Regions from separate parts of the Homo sapiens genome. Here all the other regions are linked to region 2. Evidence: promoter capture Hi-C in human tissues and cell types (Jung and others, 2019). All regions are on one chromosome and are shown on one strand. Each heading gives the region's core, a stretch centred on a gene start or on the middle of the fragment in contact. The rest is flanking DNA. Distances are from core to core; before and after follow the strand shown.

The links. Contacts are between HindIII fragments. The study calls those that stand out against the background at their distance.
Region 1: a fragment that was not itself captured here is called in contact with the fragment with the promoter of TOR4A in region 2 in 1 of the 25 tissues and cell types used here (pancreas).
Region 3: a contact is called between a fragment that was not itself captured here and the fragment with the promoter of TOR4A in region 2, in 1 of the 25 tissues and cell types used here (dorsolateral prefrontal cortex).

Annotation. Positions count from the first base shown.
Region 1 is chr9:137,320,335-137,323,113 of GRCh38, reverse strand. The region is part of intron 19 of EXD3 (exonuclease 3'-5' domain containing 3); the gene reads left to right. Among named protein-coding and RNA genes, the nearest start is that of NRARP, 19 kb to the right of the region's middle. RefSeq lists enhancers at 1,525-2,158, 2,159-2,779. The HindIII fragment of the contact is 3,018 bases long and covers 1-2,779 here.
Region 2 is chr9:137,276,334-137,279,052 of GRCh38, reverse strand. TOR4A (torsin family 4 member A) reads right to left here and starts at 1,327. Exons shown (of 2, transcript NM_017723.3): 1 at 1,146-1,327; 2 at 1-400. The coding sequence starts at 363. RefSeq lists silencers at 767-826, 1,107-1,426. The HindIII fragment of the contact is 16,896 bases long and covers 1-2,719 here.
Region 3 is chr9:137,337,295-137,339,994 of GRCh38, reverse strand. The region is part of intron 17 of EXD3 (exonuclease 3'-5' domain containing 3); the gene reads left to right. Among named protein-coding and RNA genes, the nearest start is that of NRARP, 36 kb to the right of the region's middle. The HindIII fragment of the contact is 4,297 bases long and covers 1-2,700 here.

The sequences.
Region 1 (2,779 bases), core at 97-2,596, 44 kb before region 2:
TGTCGGCAGATCACCCCTCGTGGGTCCGGGGTGGGGTGTCGGCAGATCACCCCTCGTGGGTCCGGGGTGGGGTGTCGGCAGATCACCCCTCGTGGGTCCGGGGTGGGGTGTCGGCAGATCACCCCTCGTGGGTCCGGGGTGGGGTGTCGGCAGAGCATCCCTCGTGGGTCCGGGGTGGGGTGTCGGCAGAGCATCCCTCGTGGGTCCGGGGTGGGGTGTCGGCAGAGCATCCCTCGTGGGTCCGGGGTGGGGTGTCGGCAGAGCATCCCTCGTGGGTCCGGGGTGGGGTGTCGGCAGAGCATCCCTCGTGGGTCCGGGGTGGGGTGTCGGCAGAGAATCCCTCGGGGGTCCGCGGTGGGGTGTCGGCAGAGCATCCCTCGTGGGTCTGGGGTGGGGTGTCGGCAGAGAATCTCTTGGGGGTCCGGGGTGGGGTGTCGGCAGAAAATCCCTCGGGGGTCCGGGGTGAGGTGTCGGCAGAGCATCCCTCGTGGTCCGGGGTGAGGTGTCGGCAGAGCATCCCTCGTGGTCCGGGGTGAGGTGTCGGCAGAGCATCCCTCGTGGTCCGGGTTGAGGTGTCGGCAGAGCATCCCTCGTGGTCCGGGGTGAGGTGTCGGCAGAGCATCCCTCGTGGTCCGGGGTGAGGTGTCGGCAGAGCATCCCTCGTGGGTCCGGGGTGAGGTGTCGGCAGAGCATCCCTCGTGGGTCTGGGGTGAGATGTTGGCAGAGAATCCCTTGTGGGTCCGGGGTGAGGTGTCGGCAGAGAATCCCTGGTCCAGGGTGAGGCGTCGGCAGAGCATCCCTAGTGCAGGCTGGCATGGCCACGGGGACAGCTCCAATCAGGCATTGGCTTGGATTTGGGGAATTCCCTCTGGCTCCCATGGGGCTTCTAGAAGGAATCGAGGGAAATTGTGGAAGTCCCTTCAGGCTGGGTGGGTCCCACTTTCCAAAGGCAACACGCAGGACAGCCTGCGTCTGCTTGGTGACGTCTAACAAGGTCTGGGCAACAGAAGCCCTGAGTGGGAACTGCCGCACCTCGGTGGAGATCCATAGAGGAGGCTGGTGGGGGCACCAAAGCCCAACTCACCTCTCTCCCTCCTCTCCTGTCCCCAGTGGGGGACTGGGCTGAGGCACCTGCCCAGGGCTGCACTGTCCAAGCTTGCTATGCCCCACACCAACTGGCACCTGGGCATGGCCAGTCTGGGGGGAGTTGATGCTGCCTTTTGCGCCTCCACTCAAGGCGCCAGGGTCTCCGTGGGCGACACGGGAGCAAGGGGGACTGTGGGCTGTGCTGGCTCTCGGCAGTTCCCGGTGGAGGGTACGGGCTGCTTCCAGAACGTTCCGCAGTTAGGGCCACATCAATATTCCGCCTGGAGCAGCAGGTCGGGGCTGCTCCAACAAGCCCAGTTTTGTTTCCTGGGGTTTTTTGGGGGTGGGACGGAGTCTCACTCCATCGCCCAGGCTGGAGTGTAGTGATGTAATCTCAGCTCACTGCAGCCTCCGCCTCCCAGGTTCAAGCAATTCTCCCACCTCAGGCTCCTGAGTAGCTGGGATTACAGGTGCCCACCACCACGGGCGGCTAATTTTTGTATTTTTAGTAGAGACAGGGTTTCACCATGTTGGTCAGGCTGGTCTTGAACTCCTGACCTCAGGTGATCTTCCTGCCTCAGCCTCCCAAAGTGCTGGGATGACAGGCGTGAGTAATCCCAGCCTCCCAAGCCCAATTCTGGGGGAAGTTTTGGGACCCCCTCATGGAGGGAGATCCCCTCATGGAGGCCACTGTCAGGGTCCCTGCTGGTGCCTGGGCTGGGCAGGGAGGGGCCCTGAGCTCAGCTCCACCCCATGGTCCTCAAGGGCACCCACCTGGCTGAGCAGAAACAGATGCAGGCCTGCGCCTTCTGCTACCGCCCTTCTGCCCCCACAGCCTCAGGCTGGGCCTGGCGGGGATTGAAGCAGGAAGGAAAGAGGGAAAGCTCCGGCTCGGCTCGGATCTGCAGCCGGCCAGGCACCTGTACACACAGGCCCCTGGACCTCCCACTGCCCCTGGCCTGGGGGTGCAGTCTGACCCTCTGACCCCACTGCCCTGCGGGGACCGCGGCCTCTGCCTCAGGTGGCAAGGAAGTGTGCTCCAGGGGCCTCTCCTGCAGCCTTGGGCTCCAGGGGCGGCAGGAACCGCGTCCGCTGCCTCTCTTTGTCTGTGCTCAGGCCAGCAAGCGCTGTAAAGACCCCAGGATGTCCGGGACGCCTGGGGAGGCATGTTAATGAGCTGTTCAGAATCGGCTGCTGCATTTTCTTGAGAAAACAGGAAGTTGGGTAGCTGGGAGGAAACCCCTGCTGGAGCCCTGGCCAGCCGGGTGCTGGGGAGTGCCCCTGAGGACCCAGGCCAGGCATGGAGGGGCCGCCAAGCCCTGCATGGAGAAGGGTGTCCAGGGTGTGAGGCAGAAGGGCAGACTTTGGCCTGGCTGAGTGGATGGGATGGGGGCGTCGGGGGCTGAGCAGTGGGGGCCGCCCTGACCCATGTCCGCCCTGCCTCTTTGCTGGCTACTGGCAGCTCCAAGCTGCTGATGCCACTCTGCCACCCACACCCTGCAACCCCCAAGCTGCCCCTGCTGTGGCAAGCAGGAGCGCCAGGCCCAGGGGGGCTGCAGGTAGAGCAGGCCTGGGAGGGGCTAAGGCCAGAGCTGCACCCCCGTGGGGGGCCAGCAACTGTCCAGGCTGGAGAGGGCAGCGCCAGCTGTCCAGGACCAAGGCAGTGAGGGAAGGAGCATCTGGATCTGAAAGA
Region 2 (2,719 bases), core at 78-2,577:
GCGCTGCGCGCGGCTCCTGTGCTCCACGCGCGGCCGATACTTGCGCGAGGTCTCCGGGTAAAGCACCAGGCGGCTGCGCCGGCGCTTCTTGCGTGGCGTCCTGGAGGGTAGCTCCGCGGGGCTGTCGAAGGTGAAGAACTTTGGCTGGTCCAGGTCCGCGCGCGGTGCCCGGGGGCTGCAGCCCGGCCTGGGCGCCCCGGTCCCGACGTCGGGCCCCCCACCCGGCTGCAGGAGGCGCCGTTTGCGTAGGACACACACCCGGCGGCGCAGGCGGAGCACAGCGCGCACGGGCGCGATCACGCACCGGCCCGAGGCTCGGGGGGCCGCGGCAGCAGGCTCCAGGCTGGGCTGGCCGCGGTCCATGTCGCAGGAACGGCGCTCCGCATACAGGTCGCCCTCCCTGCAACGGGAAGACGGGGAGGGTCTCTGGACTCCCGCCACTGCCCTTTCCCGCGGGCCGCCGGAACCGGTCCCCGGAGTGATCTTACCCCCTGGGAGTCCCGTGGGGTGCGGCCCGGGCTGCCCCAGGGCCAGGGGCCTGGTCGCGGCCTCGCCCCTCAGACCGGCAAGCGACCCCTCCGCCCCTCCGCCCCTCCGCCCCTCCGCAGGGCCCCGATGCAAATCTCTCGGGTCTTCCCATAAACGGCCGCGGGCCTTGAGGAAGTGGCGGGGTAGAGGCTTATCTGGTGGCCGCCCCGGCTTCCTGGAGGAGTCGTCGAAGGAGTCAGTGGCCGCCCAGGCGCCCACTGGGGTGAACAGTCACCCCCGGACCCTGCCCCCGCCCGCGGCTCCCACTGGACTGGGCCGTCTCCCAAGGAGGGGCCGCGGGAAGCAGAGGCCTGAGCGCCCAGGAGTTCAGAGACGCCCCCACACGCTCCAGAACACTTGGCGGGGGTCTGGCTGGAACTTATGATTTTGAGAATAGGCCCGGGCCCCGTCCCCAGGCTCAACCCAGGCCTCCCAGCCCCGACTCCAAAACTGGGGTCCTCCCAACACCCCTCCAGTGAACGAGCTGAGCAGTGCAGGGAGCCCCCCGGAGACTAGTGGAGGTGAAACGAAAAGATGGACAGAAAGAAGAGGCCGGTCGGAGCAAGAGAGCCACTGACTGGCAGGAACTGGGCCCTGGGCCCCAACCCACCCCCTACCTGCAGCTGGTCCACTGCCCTCAGCTCCGCAGGCCCCTGCCTGTGCCAGACGCTGGGGCCTGAGACTCCAAGCAGGAAATGCGCCTCCCAGGGCGAGGGGGTGGGCCAGGGGCCTCCTGGGCCAGCTTCGGCCTGGAGGGGCAGCGACACCTGTGGGTCCCCAGGGAGCGGCCGGCCGGAGTAGAGGAAGCTCTGGGGAGGTTTCCGCTTCTATGCAAAGGAAGTGAGTCAGGGGGTGCGGCCCAGGCGGGACTTGGGCTGGACGGAGGCGCCAAAGGGGGGAGGCCTGGCCGGCTTGCCCAGATCCCCTGGCCGGAGGTCACATTCCCGCTTCAGTTCTCTAGCGCTCAGAGCCCTCCTGGCTTGGTCAGGCTCAGGACACCTGGTGAGGCCGAGGGCCCCTGCTGCATGCTGTGCCCCCACCCTGGGCTCCTGCACCTCAGCCTGTCCTCCAGGGCCCCCACCTCCCCCAGGTTATCCCTTCCACCTGTCACCCCACACACAGGGCTTACAGCTGGGGGGAGGGGCTCCAGGCCCTGTGTAAGCAAGGCGGGAGCAAGGCAGCAGCACAGGGGGCGGGCAGGGTCCTCTGCCGAGCTGCATACCCCCAATCCCTCTCTTATTACTCCTCTCCCCGCTTTTTCATTCCCCTCCTGACCCCAATCGGGGGCCCCCCAAAGTGGGCTCATTGTCTTTCCTTTCCCCCTTCCTCCGTCCCCAGCCTGGAGCCCCCTGCCCAGGACAGGCCAGCACACACAGACGGAAGTTCTATCACGGAAAAAACCACGTGCGGCTCAGGGTCCCTGTGGGGGTTGGGGAACAAATTTAGAAACAACTTGGGCCGGGAGCCAGGAGCTGGAGCTCTGGGCCCTTCCCCCTGCCGGCCTGCCTAAAGGACCCTGGACTCCTCCTACCCTGGCCCAGCCTGGAAGCCGCCTTCCAAGGAGGGGCAAGGTGGCCGCTCCAGCCACACCAGTGCTGCTGGCATTCAGCTCAGGACCCCGCAGTCCCAGGGACGCCCCACTCCTCCCAACAGCCAGCCCGGGCCTGATGGTTCCAGCTGTATATTCCTCACACACTGCACCCAACCAGACAGGCTCCATCAGGGAAACCGGTCGTGGGTTGGGGGTTTCCATTCTCTCCAGGGTATGGGGTCCACCGGACTATCACGCTCCCCTCCAGGAGCCAGGCCTAGGGCTCCCCTCCCCTGTGCAAGGGGTGCTCGGGGGCCCGGATCCCCAATTGTCGAGGCCGCGGGGGCCGCACACACCAGGTGGAATGCTGGTGCTCTTTGGGCCCACTCCCCGGCCTCTGTGGGACCAGAGCGGAAGGAGGTTGGCTGTCCAGGCCCCGTGGCCCCAGCACGGAGGTTGGGGTCCTTTGGGGGCCTCAGGCTTTGAGTCTCGGTGCTTCTTCTGACACAGAGAGGACCCTGGAGGGGAGGCCCTCGGGCAGATGCAGGCTGACCGAGCCCTGGAAAACCTGCAGCAAAGCCTCTGCCCTGCCTCCAAGTGCACCCAGGGCTGGAGCTGCTTCTGCCAGAGGCTGGCCCAGCAAATCCTCAGGCCAGAGCC
Region 3 (2,700 bases), core at 92-2,591, 61 kb before region 2:
TGTCCATTATTTGGGGTTCTGTTCGTACACGTCATCTGCAAACTATGAGGGTTTTATTTCTTCCTTTCCAATCCTTATATCTTTTCCTTCTTTATCTTATTTCATTAGTCAAGATCTCCAAGACAGTGTCGAATAGAAATGCTGATGGTAGCCATCCTTGTCTTGTTTCTGATTTAGAAAGGAATGTTTTAACATGAAGTAAGGTGGTTGCTCAATATTCTGTACCAGGCTGAGGCAGTTCCATGATTCCACATTTGCTGTAGGTTTTTGTTATGAATGAACATTGAATTCGACCTACCTAATGCTTTCCTGGCAGCTTTTCAGATACTCATAAGGTTATTTTTCCTTTAATCTGTAAATGTGATGAATGACATTATTAGCTCTTTGAATTTGGGACTAATTTTTCTTTCCTGGGTTAAATTCAACTTGGTCCCGCATATTACCCTTCTTAATACATTGCGGACTTTGGTCTGTGATTTTTTTTTTTTTTTTTTTTTTGAAGTGGCGTCTTGCTGTGTTACCCAGGCTGGCCTCAGACTCCTGGGCTCAAGTGATCCTCCCACCTCAGTGAGACTATGGCTGGGACTACAGGCATGTGGCACCTCACCCGGCCTGGTCTGTGATTTTTGTTAGGAAGTTTGCATCCATCTTTCTGGGTACATCTGACATATAATTTTCCTTTCTCTTTTTTTCTGGCCTCATAAATACATTGGGAAGTTTTCCCTCTTTTTTCTGCAACTGAGTAATGTTTAAATTATCTGCTCCTGAAACTGGCTCACTTCCTGTGAGGCTTCCTGGCCTGATGTTTTCTTTGGGGAGAATGTTCTGATACTGAGTTTTATTAATAGTTATAGAACCACTTGGCTGGCTGTGTCTTCTTGATCACATTTGGTAATTTATAATTTTTCTGGAATGTGTCCATTTAATCCGACATTTCAAATATGTAAGTATAGATTGTTATAGATTGTCGGTGTCCGCTCTTAAGGCTCTGCTGTGTCTGCAGCTGGGTTCCCTCTCTTTTATTGTGGCTTCCTTTTGCTCTCACTCTTCTCATGCTCTCGCAGAGATGTGTCAACTTACTGCCCTTTTTTTTTTTTTTTTTGAGATGGAGTCTCGCTCTGTTGCCCAGGCTGGAGTGCAGTGGCGCGATCTTGGCTCACTACAAGCTCCGCCTCCCGGGTTCACGCCATTCTCCTGCCTCAGCCTCCCGAGTAGCTGGGACTACAGGCGCCCGCCACCACTCCCAGCTTTTTTTTTTTTTTTTGTATTTTTAGTAGAGACGGGGTTTCACCATGTTAGCCAGGATGGTCTCGATCTCCTGACCTCGTGATCTGCCCTCCTCAGCCTCCCAAAGTGCTGGGATTACAGGCGTGAGCCACTGCGCCCGGCCAACTTACTGCCTTTTAAAATAACCAGTATTTGGCTTTGTTAAGTCTTTCTATTGCATTTTTGTTGTCTATCTCATCAATTTCTGTTCTTATCTTTATAATTTCCTTCCTTTTGCTTTCTTGGGTTTGTTTCCAAGTGGCGTTGCTTAGCTCTTTAATTTTCAGACTCTTATATTTTATGATATAAGTGTTTAAGGCCATAAATTTTTCTCAAAGTATTGTTTTCACTGCGCTATATCAGTTTTGATATACAGTGTTTTCATTGTTTTTAGTTCTAACAACGTTTGAATATCAATTATGATTGCTTATTTGACTTCGTTCTTTAGAAGGTTTTTCAATTTTAGAAAGCTTGGATCTTGGGGCTTTTTAGTTATCTTCTTAAAAATGATTTCTAACCTAACTTCAGGAAAATAGTCTGTATATTTCCAATTTTGGAAATTTCTTAAGATTTGCTTTGTAGCCAAGTAGATGGTCCTTTTTATAAATGATCCACATGGACTGTAAAAGGATACATGGTATTGGCTGGGCACAGTGGCTCACGCCTGTAATCCCAGCACTTTGGGAGGCCGAGGCGGGCAGATCACGAGGTCAGGAGATCGAGACCATCCTGGCTAACACAGTGAAACCCTGTCTGTACTAAAAATTCAAAAAATTAGCTGGGCATGGTGGTGGGCGCCTGTAGTCCCAGCTACTCGGGAGGCTGAGGCAGGAGAATGGCATGAACCCGGGAGGTGGAGCTTGCAGTGAGCCAAGATTGCGTCACTGCACTCCAGCCTGGGCAACAGAGCAAGACTCCATCTCAAAAAACAAAACAAAAAAAAGATACATGGTATTCCCTTCCAGTCATGCTCATCTCTCTCCCCCTCTCTCCCTCCCACTCCACCTACCCCCCAACATATGCACACACTCAGTAGATCCAGCTTGCCAAATGTGTCGTTCAAAACATCTTTTTTTTTGAGAAGAAATCTCGCTCTGTCGCCCAGGCTGGAGTGCAGTGGCGAAATCTCGGCTCACTGCAAGCTCCGCCTCCCGGGTTCAAGCAATTCTCCTGCCTCAGCCTCCCAAGTAGCTGGGATTACAGGTGTCCGCCACCACACCCGGCTAATTTTTGTATTTTTAGTAGAGATAGGGTTTCACCATATTGGCCAGGCTGGTCTGGAACTCCTGACCTTGTGATCCGCCCGCCTTGGCCTCCCAAACTGCTGGGATTATAGGTGTGAGCCACCGCACCCAGCCTAAATCATCTTTATCCTATTTACTTTTCTGCCTGATTCTACCAAGAGAGACATACAGAAGGTTCCTGTGATGGTAC